Regions from separate parts of the Homo sapiens genome. Here region 1 is linked to region 2. The links are contacts of gene promoters, found by promoter capture Hi-C in blood cells and fetal thymus (Javierre and others, 2016). All regions are on one chromosome and are shown on one strand. Each heading gives the region's core, a stretch centred on a gene start or on the middle of the fragment in contact. The rest is flanking DNA. Distances are from core to core; before and after follow the strand shown. Region 1 has its middle 150 kb from the start of PRELID2. Region 2 holds the start of SH3RF2 (SH3 domain containing ring finger 2).

Evidence for each region. The method cuts DNA at HindIII sites, captures the fragments that hold promoters and counts their contacts. A CHiCAGO score of 5 or more calls a contact.
Region 1: a fragment that was not itself captured here is called in contact with the fragment with the promoter of SH3RF2 in region 2 in 2 of 17 cell types (M0 macrophages and M2 macrophages); the score reaches 8.1 in M0 macrophages.

The regions. Positions count from the first base shown.
Region 1 is chr5:145,682,179-145,688,103 of GRCh38, reverse strand. It overlaps a transcript of PRELID2 not described here. Among named protein-coding and RNA genes, the nearest start is that of PRELID2, 150 kb to the left of the region's middle. The HindIII fragment of the contact is 793 bases long and covers 2,049-2,841 here.
Region 2 is chr5:145,934,094-145,940,795 of GRCh38, reverse strand. It overlaps SH3RF2 (SH3 domain containing ring finger 2), which reads right to left and starts at 4,218. Exons shown (of 10, transcript NM_152550.4): 1 at 4,102-4,218; 2 at 2,490-2,973. The coding sequence starts at 2,867. It overlaps LOC107986458 (a long non-coding RNA gene), which reads left to right. Exons shown (of 4, transcript XR_001742913.2): 4 at 5,033-5,095. RefSeq lists an enhancer at 3,903-4,480. The HindIII fragment of the contact is 1,154 bases long and covers 3,592-4,745 here.

The sequences.
Region 1 (5,925 bases), core at 1,196-3,695, 250 kb after region 2:
ACAAGTGGCAGAAGAAAATGAAACCTTGTCAAGCCCTTGCATATATGATTTCAGGATGCCAATGAGAGGCATTGGATCAGAGGAGAAGATTGTGAATGTGAGTGCTTTTCTGAGGCTGCACCATGCAATGAAGAAACAAAGACTTGGGAGTCTGAACTTGATTTAAATCTTGGCTTTGCCTCTAGTTTCACTGGGAGATAGAAACCTTGATAAGATTCTTAGTTTATTAATCTGTAAAATGGGACTAATAGCACTGACTTTATTTATTTAAATGAGGTAATTGATTTAAAGCATCTAAATATTTAATTGATTTAAAGTTAGGAAATACTGGTAGTTTGTGGACAATGATTGGATTGACAGATCTGATTCTACTCATTTATTCATTTAGTCATTAAAAAAATCATTGAGCATCCCCTAAATGCTAGTGATGCATAAGCAAATACATTAGAAAATGTCCATGCTGTCATGGAGTTTCTACTGGAAAGAGACAATCTGAAAGGTAACACATCGATAAACAAAAGAATGACAATTTTGTTAGTTGATTTAATCATGTCCTTTATAGCACTTTTATTTTCTGATCCAGGATCCAGTCCAGGATCACATGTTGCATTTTAGTGGTCATATTTCTTTATTTGTCTTTATTCAAGAATAAGTTCCTAGGCCTTTCCTTGACTTTCATGACATTGATATTTTTGAAGAGTCCAGGCCAGTTATCTTGTAGATTGAATCTCAACCTGGGTTTGTCTGATTGTCTTTTGACGATGTGCTTTTTAAGGCCATGCAGGAAGCAAATGGCAGAGCTAAGACTGGGACCCGGCTTTCCTGACCACATGTCTTGTGCATTTTTCTCTTAAAAGCTGCCAAGAGACTTGGAGGTCAGAAGACCCCCCATAGTTTCATCCCCAGAAGAAGAGTCCCATTAACACTGCCAGGTTGTTAAATAACAGTAGTATTGACATGGTAATAACCAGAGAGAACACCTTCTTCCAGGTTAACCTGGTGATCTTCTTGGTCATCATTTAGCATCTCCAAGTCTGAGTGACAAATTAAAAAAAACCTGTAATTATTTTCATACTTTTTTGTCATCATCTCTCTAGATGACAATTTGTCTTGCTTTAATAGAAGAGCTGGAAAAATCATTAGGGAAATTAGATCAAATGTGGGTAAAATGCCATAAGATCATTTCAGTTCTATTATGATGCATTTTTCAAAACTATAGGACATTGAACAAAATGCATTAAAATTAAAGAAAAAATTTTTTATTTGGAAAATTCTTTTTAAAAGCTGAACAATTACTGCAGCTAATCTATAATTTACCCAGATGTTGGGTACTTTATTATATTGACATGCTGCAAGTTAGCTCACTAAATTTTCTCCAAGAAATGGCGGAAACAAAAGGGCAAGTAATTGGTGCTCTGAGCCCATGGTCTGCTTCCCGTTTCATGAATGGGACCACAAGTACATTTTAAAATTTGTCCAGATGTTGTTTTAAAAAAACACGCACACAAATAGTCTTCAAACTAACCCTAAATGGACTCTGCCTTTTCACAGCTTTCTTATTTCTGGTTGAATGTTTCTTCTGCTGTTCCAAAAGTGGGATTAGAAGACGTTTTTAGGTGGGGCTGGGGAAAGACCCTTCCCCTGTTTAGATCTTGTTGCTAAGGGCATGGTGGGGCTGGGTGGTGAGGGGAAATTTCATCTATTATGCATCTTATTAATGAGAAGGCATACATATTGTTAGACTGTTTATTTATATTATAAATATTCATTCGAATTTAGTTATTGAAAATCCCCCTTATAAGCCAGGCACTGTGCTAGGCAGTGAATTTAAAATGAATAACTCAGATGTGGTCCCTACCTACAGGGAGTTTATAATCTTGTGTATGTAGGGTTTGGGTGAGGCAATTCTATTGGCTGAGCACAGGATGCTACAGGAAGGCATGTAACAGACTTAGGAGGGAGGTAAAGTGAGTGGGTTTACATGTGTAATTTCCTCTGTAACAGACACTTTTACCTATGATGAATAACAAAGGCAGAAGAGAAAAGCTTGATTTGGTGAAGAATTTATACATCGCCATGCTGTTCATTCCCATGTAACATGGGAAACCCATGACAAAGGGCTTTTCAAAGAATGGCGATATCAGGGACCAGGGTGAACAGAGAAGTCAAGCAGCTTTTTTGGATCCTTCCTCAGAAAATCTTGGAGGAGATTCCTCACAGAACTCAGAGTCAGAAACTGTCCAGGATAGGGAAGCTGAAGAGCTTGAAGTTTGTTTACCTTCTCTTCTAGGTGACCCTCTGCAGAGGAAGGCTACTTTCTCCTGTGGGTCAGCGGCTTTCTACCTCTTTTCTCTATACACTGGGACTCCTGCTTTTTACAGTGGTACTGACTTAATATTTACTACAGGCAATTGTTTTCTGGTCTCTCTGTCTCTCTCTGATTAATATATAGAACTTCCCTCTCTACACTCATAGACAATGTTTTATAGCACTCCTGAAACAGATGTGGGACTGCAATGAAGCATTATACTTGCTTTTGTAATGAGTGTTGAGGGTAGGAAAAAAATGGTCATGGAGGAACTTCAATGTGATGAGGTTTAGGTTTGTCCTCTAAATTCTTATCTATGCCAGAGAAGGCTTCTGCAAAGAAGCAATGTCCAAGCTGAGACTTGAAAACATTAGGGTAGAAACTGGGCTCTAGAGAGCAAGAATAACATTTGCAAAGACCTAGCGACTGGAGAGAACATGGCGTATTACATCAGAGAAACCGAAAGTTGTTCAGTATGCCTTATGGAAGAGTGAAAACAGGGAGGTAAGAGGTGGCTTTGGTAATTGAAAGCTTTGGAAGCCTTTGAGGCCATGGGAAGCTACTGAAGCCACATAAGTGGGGAAGTGGTAGGATTAGATTTATATTTCAGAGTAAGAATTCTGACTGCAGTGGAATAAAAGGTTTAGGGGCAAAGCTGAAAACAGAGAGACTAACTGATTCTCTCAATGTATTGGGATAGTGGCAGTCAGGATGGGGACAGGCAGAAGAATGGCAGAAATATTTTGGAAGTAGAAGCAACAAGACTTGATGATTAATTGGATGTGGACAGTGAGGGAGGAAGATAAATCAGAGACCAACAGCCCAACTTTCTTCATATCTGTCTTATACCCCAACCTTGGTCTGGACTTTGAAGCCTCCTTCCATCTTCAGTTTTTCCTAAAGCTGTGACCTCAAATCCTGGCATTGACCTTAGACTCCATGATGACTGTTATTGCCTTAGTGGTGCCAACAGCACCCATGACTACAATCTGTACTCCAAATGCTGGTGCTGGTCATTACCTGCCCCCAGGATTGGTTCATCCATGTGTTTCCTTCCTGAATATACAGCCACAGGATGATAATGGTGGTTAAGAGCAGGGACTTTAAGTGGGATGGATTTAAGTTCAAGTCCCAGCTCTTCACTTACTCTTAGTTTGACCTTTGGCAAGTCACTAAACATCTCTGAACCTCATATTTTCTCATCTGTGAAATAATAACAGAACAACTATGAGGATTAAATGAAAGCATGAATGTGAAGCACAGTGCCTGCACATGGGCAAGCACAAAATGAAAGCTAACCAAAGAGAGGAACAAGGAAACAATAAGAAGAGAGTGATAGGTTTTAGTGGGGTTTTTTTCCTTTCTCTCCCACGACCTACAGTCTGAAACAACACAGGATAACAAAAGCATCCATTTGGATAGAGAGGAAGAGGAAGAATCTCTTTTAGCAGGATTTCATGAAGGAGGTCCACAAAGAAGAGTTTATTCTGATTGCGTAAAAGTTCAGATTGGTTTGTTGAGCCTGGACTAGAACCAAAGCTAGGGCCCAGCCCATCGAGGCTTCTTTCACCCCTGGACTATTGACTCTTTTCATGTCATTTTTCTCCTCTACATACATGTTCTTCCTCATTGTCTTTGTTCAAATCTCAGTCACCATTAACTCTCTTATCCTTCCCCCTCCTGCTCTTCCCCTTTTGTCTCTTTTCACAAGGTAGCTCTAAAGCATCTCTGTATTTGTCCGGTTCCAGGCATGGCAGGATGTAGAAGTTAACATTTGTTGGAGACTGTTTTGCTTCCTGGAATCTCCCCTCTAGAAAACTTTGTGTCGCTCTGCTTACAAACCTGGTATATCCCTGAGTAGAGGCAGTGCTATTAAAACTCAGTAATAATAATAATACCAATAAGCAATGTGCATCAGTGCACTCTGCTGTTCTATACAATCAGCAGCTCGTTCTACTGGCCAGTGACCAAGCAGCCCCCTTTGTGATTGGTCAGCTCCATGCCATACTGGTCGTTATAGGTTGAACTGTGTTCTCCCTCTCTCCTACAATTCATGTGTTGAAGCCCTAAACTCCAGTATCTGAGAGTATCTGTATTTGGAGATAAGGCCTTTTAAGAGTGATAAAGGCAAAATAAGGGCATTAGGGTGGGCCCTAATCCAATGTGACTAGTGTGCTTTTAACAAGAGGAAATGTAGATATGCAGAGAGATACTAGGGATGCATGCACACAGAGGAGAGGCCATGTGAGGACATAGCGAGAAGGTGGCCATCTGAAAGTCTAGGAGAGAGTCCTCAGAAGAAACCAAACATCCTGACATCTTGGTTTTGGACTTCTAGCCTTCAGAACTATGAGAAGATAAAGTTTTATTATTTAAGCCATCCAGTTTGTAGTATTTGGTGCAGTAGCCCTAGCACACCAGTATACTGGTTATGATATTTTTTGGACTATCATGTTCAATAATAACAGTTTTGTTGATTGCTGAATCTATTCTAGGGGTAGTATAGAACACATCATTACATCTTTAGTCACTATCTAGGTATTATCCTTATTTTGCAAATGGGAGAACTCAGGCTTGAAGAAGAAAATGACTTACCTAAAGTCAAAGTCACAGAGCTAGTAAAGGACAAATTCAGGCTCAAATCTAAATCTTTCTGACACCAGTACCTAGGTTCTTAACTGTTCTGTACTACCTAGAAATACTGGTCTTCTCTGACTGCTTTCACCCAATATAAACAATGCTCTGTATTTTTCTCTGTGGCTCTCTGGTCTTTTTTCCCCTTTGGAGCATGAGCTACAATTTAGAATCATAAATTAATTATGTGATTATTTTCTCAATGCCTTCCTCCCCTGCTAGTCCCATGATGTAACACTGTGCTTATAATCATGAAGATGATGTTAGTTTTGGAACCAGCAGTGTTGAAAAGCTTCTTGATTTTTATGCCAAGTGAAAGCCAGCCAGCCCTTTGCATATGGTGAAATGATCAACCTCGATGGTCATTGGCAAGTAACAGGAACCGCTGCTGGGCTCTTTAATTTATACCTTGATATTGTACACATGTGGCCTCAGGAAGGGAGCGTGTCACCTAACCTTCCCACATGGTGAATACCAGCATTTCCCTCCTCATGGCTGCTGTCATGAAGAGCCCTGCCTGGTCTGGCATTCTCGGACTTGTTTTTCCATTTAGAAATGCACTTCAAGGCAGGAAGCTGTGAGCCACTGGGTGCACCCTTGGTGGCTTTTCTCTGCTTTTCCTGACCTTCTACCCTGTTAATACATCTGGGCGAAGTGGCAGCAGCTTATTTCGGATATAATGGAGCCTACAAAAAATGAAGCCAGGTCTGTTATACCAGATTGTGACTCCTCAAAGAACAAGATCCCAGCAGATACTTATTGTAGACGTCACACTGTGCTAATCACCTAGTTCAGCCAATGTCGTATTATGATGATAGTGGTTATTATTTTCCCAGTGAGGTTCCCCCATCAGAGGTGGAAACTGTACATTTTCCTCCCAACCAAAACTAATAGAAAAATTCTATCTACTTCCCAAGGACTGAATTTTTTAAAGACAGATTATTTTTCTCTTTGTGGCTTTTTATTTTTAGGTTTCCTCCTCC
Region 2 (6,702 bases), core at 2,969-5,468:
TACATGACATCTTCCCATTTTACAGAATTTTAAATTGAGACCCAGCAAACATAAGTGGCTTGCCCAAAGTCATACAGCATGTCTAAATGAATCTTAATGATGATGCTTTGCATTTACATAGCAGATGTTTTCTAAGGCAGTAAAAGTATGTTGCAAAGATAATTTTCACACTATCCTGGAGGAAGGTGGGTAGCAAGTAGCTTTTGACTAGATTGGCTGAACTGTGGCAGAGAGGGCAAGGAACTCAGGAGGATTTGACCGAGGATGTAAGTCCATTCCTCTGACTCTCTAAACAGACTGTGGCATCCAGACAACCCTCAGTTCTCTTAACTGTGGGATGCATGGTTGCTTTCATGGTTGCAAAAAAGATAGGTAATATTTTTGGGAGCAGAGGCACGTTGCAGAACAGCAGCCATATTGACATCCAGAAATAGGTTTGTTCATATCCCCACTGAGGAAGGCAAAAGGAATGAGAGGAGTCACTTCAAGAAAGGATAGTTAGGACATAAAGGAATTGGGAAGTGGGGGTGCCAGCTCTGCTCTCTTGCAGAGCATCTTTCTAGCCCAGGTCCTGCCTGAACACAGGAGCCCTTGAGTTTCAGCCTCACCACAGGACTTGGTCCAGAGCAGCTTGGAGGGTGGGCACAGACGATAGTCTGATGTTATAAGTCCCTGCAAAAGAATTCCAGAGAGACCCAGTATCTTAATGGCTGTCTCTTATGTACAACCAGCTCTCACCTCAATTCCCTGTGCCAGAAGGGCCCTGAGAATCCTCTATAGTTCAAAAACTTGGTAGCTGTGGATCCATTCATCGCTACCTGTCCTTTGCAACACAGTCACATTGAGAAAGATGTAAACCACAACAAAAATATTCCAAGCTGATAAGGGAACTGCCTCCTCCCAGTGTGACACCGTTTCCTGAGTAAGTGATGATACTCCGCTGAAAGGCAGGTCAGACTTCTGCAAGGTGGGGAAGGGAAGAGGTTGCTAGGTCTTAGGAATTCAAGGGGGATTTGCTGACCCAGAGATAGAGCTCTTTTCTCTACAAACAAGGCATGTTTGAGAACAATTTGCTTCCCCACCCCTACTTCGCCATTTCCAGACCTGTGGATTCTGATTGATGACTAGACCAGGGGTAGTGGAGGGACTTAAAAAGAGTTCCAAACCCTTTTCTGGAATGTGTCACTTACAAGCACAATGGCAATAAAAAGCCTACAGTGAAGAAATCAAGGGTGTACAGTGAAAAAATGTCCTGCTTCTTCCCACCCTCATTGTTGAATGTTTACACATGCGCCATGGGTGGTTTAAAGATGCAGTGAACCCAGGAAGTGGTAGCTCTTAGAAGGAAAATTTCGGAAAGTTGTTCCAAATGCGTATCACAAGCCACTCCTCACTCCTGAGTAAGGAAGCAGTCCTGCAAGACCCTCCCACACGTTATTCCTCTTCAGAGCAGGGAGATGTGGGACACTGCTGCCAGCATTTAGACTCTAATGCTTGCTCTAGGTAAGACTTCAAGGAATGTAGCTTTGATTTTCTAAGTATGCCAATGGCCCAAGCCACAGCTTTCCGTGTCCACTTTTTTACACTGACTCCAGGGGTGACAGTGCAAATAATTCTGCTGGACTCACAAGGACCATGTCCTTCTTTCCAGATGTGCCCTTACACATTATCCCACAACAAGGTTCATAGCCAGGTCAGATAAAGTCCTCGGGGTGTGCTTTCAGCGCTGGACAGAGCGATTCCCATTATCCAAACATGAAAAGCATTAATCTCCTGTGAGGCGTAACTGGGTCTGTTTGGTTTTTTAATTGCAGCCCCTGCTGTGTATCTTCTCTGTATTTCATTCATTTTGCAAAATGAGACACATCTGCAGAGCTCCTATACACAGCTGAAGCACTTCACAGCCCAGCCTTTGCTATCAATCAGTCCACCCACATAGATGCTTCCCTCCTGCACTATCTCCCGCGTCAAGTATCTTGATAGCTTGGAACAGATTATGAATGAGTATTGCCATAATAGCACTTTATGACTAGGGGTGGGAAGATGGATTTGGGTAAAATTCAAACAAAACCTGACATTTGGAAATTTCTGAGAGATCTCAAAAGCAACAAGCAGTTGGATTTGTTTTCTCTCTTTTGTTTCTCCCCACCCTCCGTGCATTTCCCAGGCACTAGTTTGGCCTCAGAACAGCAGAAGTGAAACACCAAAAATATAATCTAAAAGGCTTTCCTTGTTCTACTACTTTCTGGACTAGAGGAAAGGAGAACCTAGGAAGCTTTAATAGTTCTAAAGAGAATTCTTAGATGGATTAGATAGGCTCAGGTTTTCATTGTATTTGAGTAAAATGATCACTGCCCACAGAAACTTATCACTGGGAAATCAACAGCAGCACTCTGGAATGTAACTAAAAGAAGATAATCTCTAGCTCCTTGTATACACAAATCCAACCTCTATGTGGACATGATATTAGCAAATAAGATCTCTCTTACCCCATCCATGTGGATTCTGACATTAGGCACTAGCCGGAAAGGACTGGCCTGCAGACGTCTGGGGTTGGTCCTGCTTTTCCTGCCATCCTGCAAGGTCATCGTGCCAGGCCTGCGGAAGGAGCCCCCTCTCCCGGAGCTCTGCCCTGAGCGCACTCCATCCAGAAGGCGCACGAGCAGCAGGTTGGCCGGCAGCGCCTCAATGTTGGAAAACACAGGCGTCCTGCATTCGGGGCACCGCAGCTCTTTGTGGGCCTTGAAAACCCTCTGTAGACATGGTTTGCAGAAGGTGTGCTGGCAAGGGAGGACTTTGGCTGTGACATCGAGCTTCTCAAAGCACACAGGGCACTCCAGAAGATCAAGTAACGTCAAATCATCCATTTTATTTCAAAACTCCAGTTCCCACCTGGAGGAGCAGCGTCCACATGGTAGGGTCAGTTGAGCCACGGGGGCAGAGCTGGTCTCTTGAGAACGTCAGAATTTTTGCCTGCTTGAAGGAGGGAGAGGAGAGAAAAAAAAATGTGACTGCTCCGAGAGGTATATCCCACCTACATTGAGGCAGTGTCTCATAAGGCAGTTTGCAAGTACTTTGTTCCGGCACCCAAGTTTCAAATGACTCATTCTGATTCAATGCTAGCAGGTATAAGACTCAACTCGTGCTTGCTGTGAGGATCAGAGGGAACATTCAGCACAAGACTGACTGCTTATTGCCTATGTGGACAGGAAAGCAGGGAGATAAACTGGCCTGCTGAAGTGGCCCCCCAACCCCTCTCTACCAGCCAGGGCGGGAAGAGGTCCTTTACCCCCTGCCCGGGGAAAGCTCCTGGACAGTCTCAATTCTTACAACAAAGCCCCCTCCGAACGCAATTTCTGTGAAGCTATCTCCTCCTCCTCCTTCCCCTAAATCTAAATGTATCTATTATCTGCACCACATGCAGATTAGTTTAGGTGGGTAAGTTTATCTGAATCTCATGCAGATGTAGAATTATTTCCTTCACAATATACCTTCCCACATGATTCTAGCAATGTACAAGAAAAATTTCCACTAGAAACCCATTTCCAAAAATTGTTTTGCCTTAACCACAGGTCAGGGTGCTTGGAAGCTTTGTTTCTTTTCTTTTTTCATCTTTTTTTTTTTTTCTCTCCTCATCCCGATTACCTTAGGCTCAGAGACAATGTTCCTCCCACAAGGTAAAGTAGTGCAGCCTGTTTAGTTACTTTGACATTGTTCTCAATTTCAAATGAAGCAGATAGGAATTCTGGATTGTGGTCACGACCTGTAAAAACCGTACTGGGGCAGCATATACAGGTAGGGGTCGTGTGTGTGTGTACTCTGAAAACAGTACTTGTTCCAGAAACAAGTTTCCTTTTGGATGTATGAAAAGAAGCCTCCAGTTTAGAAAAGTCTGGAAGAAGTCAGCTGTCCCTCACAAGTGCCAGGGCTTCGGTAAGCACCGAGCCCAGAGGTTTGGCGAGAAGGCCAGTGGCCCCACTAGCGACTAGTAAGCAGGACAGACACGACCGAGAATGAGCGATGGCGCCTCGCCTTCCTAAGCCTCCTCTCCAAAGATGTCAGCGCGGCAGCGGGCTGGGGAGGCGTGTGGGGGCCACTAACCTTGTGCATGTAACTTCTGCTGAGTTCAGCTCAGCCCCCTCCTCCGCGCAGCAGGGGTGCGCTGCGCCCTCCAACCGGCTTCCTTTCCTCCAAGCGCCGCTGCTGCCAACCGCTTTGAAAACTTTAACCACTCAGTCTTACTCATTTCAAGGGATCGCCTTACCCAGCCCTGTTAACGCTTTCACTGCCAGGGCGCTGCCTACTTACCACGCTTTTGTTGTTGCAGTTGTTAACTTTATGATCTTTCCTTCAGTTTACTGAATTGCTTCTGGGAAAAGATTGTAAGAGGTAAAATATAAGCCAGTCCCTAAGGCCAAGTATTTACAAAGTTCATATTTTCACCTTTCCCGTTTTCTGTAGTATCCAAGGAGTCAGAACCTGCTCCATTATAAACATACCAAAGTGATTGTGTTTATTTTAAATCTTCATAAGGATTTCCTGGGAAGGTCAAAAGTAAAAATGGTCAAGCTATGAAAACAAGGATAAGTCGGACACCTAGAAAATATTGCTCTTTGAAAATCATAGTCAATCTCTGAATTTAGAGATAAGAGGGACTTTAGTGATCTTTTTGCTCAATCTGTTTAAATTAAAAAACTAGTGTCACGTATATACACATACGTGAAAAATCAAAGCACAGAGAAGCTTTTTCAAAAAAGGAAAAGCAGTGGCCTCCAAGCTCTCCTCCTGCCTGTTATCCACTGTAGTCTTTTCATATCCTCAGATTATGCCTATATTTCTATTTTTTGATTTATCGATAATACATTTCATGTAAAATTACAAAGGTATCCGATTAAGTGAATAATAACAATCTTAATGCCAGGGTAGTCCTTATCTGTGTCAACCACTGTTCTAAATACCTTACCTGTGTTAGCCCTTTAACCCCTTAACAACCCAAGGAGACACTAAACTATTCTTTACTTTCATCTTGCAGATGAGGGAACTTGAGACACAGAGAGGATAAATAACTCATCTCGGGAGTCACAGCTAGCAGAAGGCAAGTGGGCTGTGCTCTTAACAATGTCATGGAGTGATATAACTTTAAGAGGCTGGCCAGGCGCAGTGGCTCATGCCTGTAATCCCAACACTTTGGGAGGCCGACGTGGGCAGATCACAAGGTCAGGAGATCAAGACCATCCTGACCAACATGGTGAAACCTCATTTCTACTAAAAATACAAAAATTAGCTGGGCATGGTGGTGCGCACCTGAAGTCCCAGCTACTCAGGAGGCTGAGGCAGGAGAATCGCTTGAACCTGGGAGGCGGAGGCTGGAGTGAGCTGAGATCGTGCCACTGCACTCCAGCCAGGGCGACAAAAAAAAAAAAAAAAAAAAAGAGGTGAAGAGGTGGTTCAAGGGAGCTAAGCCTCCCCTAAGAGGGCAAGAGGTCAAAAGATAATGGACAAAACTGGCTACTCACTTTCTCTTACAGATGAGGCAGCTGTGCCCAGAAAGATCAAGGGATTCTTTGAAGTTGTCCAGTGAGTTAGGGGCAGAATTGGGACTAGAAACTAGGTGTTTGAGGCCAGGCGCGGTGACTCATGCCTGTAATCCCAGCACTTTGGAAGGCTGAGGTGTGGGTGGATTGCTTGAGGTCAGGAGTTTGAGACCAGCCTGGCCAACATGGTGAAGCCCGATCTCTACTAAAAATGCAAAAATTAGCTGGGTGTGTTGGCTGGGAGTGCTTGGGAGGCTGAAGCACAAGAATCACTTGAACCTGGGAGGTGGAGGCTGCAGTGAGCTGAGATTGTGCCATTGCACTCCAGCCTGGGCGACTAAGACTCCGTCTCAAAAAAAAAAAAAAAAAAAAAGAGAAAGAAACTGGGTGTTCTTTTTAAAATTATTGTTATTACTATATCTTCTCTCTAGACGTAAGGATGACAATTATTTATTATGCAGAGAGTGTTCAGACACAGCTCAATGGGAAAATCTTAAGAGGAGACCAGGAGGTCTGAAAACATTGTTTACATATTTTTCCACGTTCTTTCATGTTAGTTCCAAAACATCAAACATGCATGTGGCCCAGAACTTTAGGATGGAGCCGATGGTTATCTATTTTCTGAGCACGGAGGCCTAATTTTGATGTAGGACAATTTCAGAGACCACTTTCAACTATTACTTTTTTAACGTCACTTTTGAGCTTTGATAACATCACATCCCATTCTGCTTGCCTGTCTCCTTCTATTAATTTCTACTCTTGAGTCTGTGCCACTAAGGAAGCTCTTGAGGTTTACTGTCCTCTTACTCTGTTTCCCACTTAGTAAAGCTGAGTCAGTTTCCTTTGTGCCCTGCAGTGGTCTCACTCCGTAAAAAGGGCCACTCCTATGCTGGAACTCCTGTTGCAGAGATTGGCGATATTTTTCATTATTCTTTCTCTTGTTCTTAAACACACTCTATCTCCCTTACATACTCATATCTGCACCTATATGCAGATGCATGCATACACTTGTGTAAGGGTGCACACATACATAATCTTAATAATAGTAACACCTATGGAGCACTTGCTGTATGCCACTGACCAATGCTAAGATTTTAAACATATTATCTCATTGAATTCTCCCAACCACCCCGTAAGATACTGTAACTTTCCCAGGGTTACAAACCTT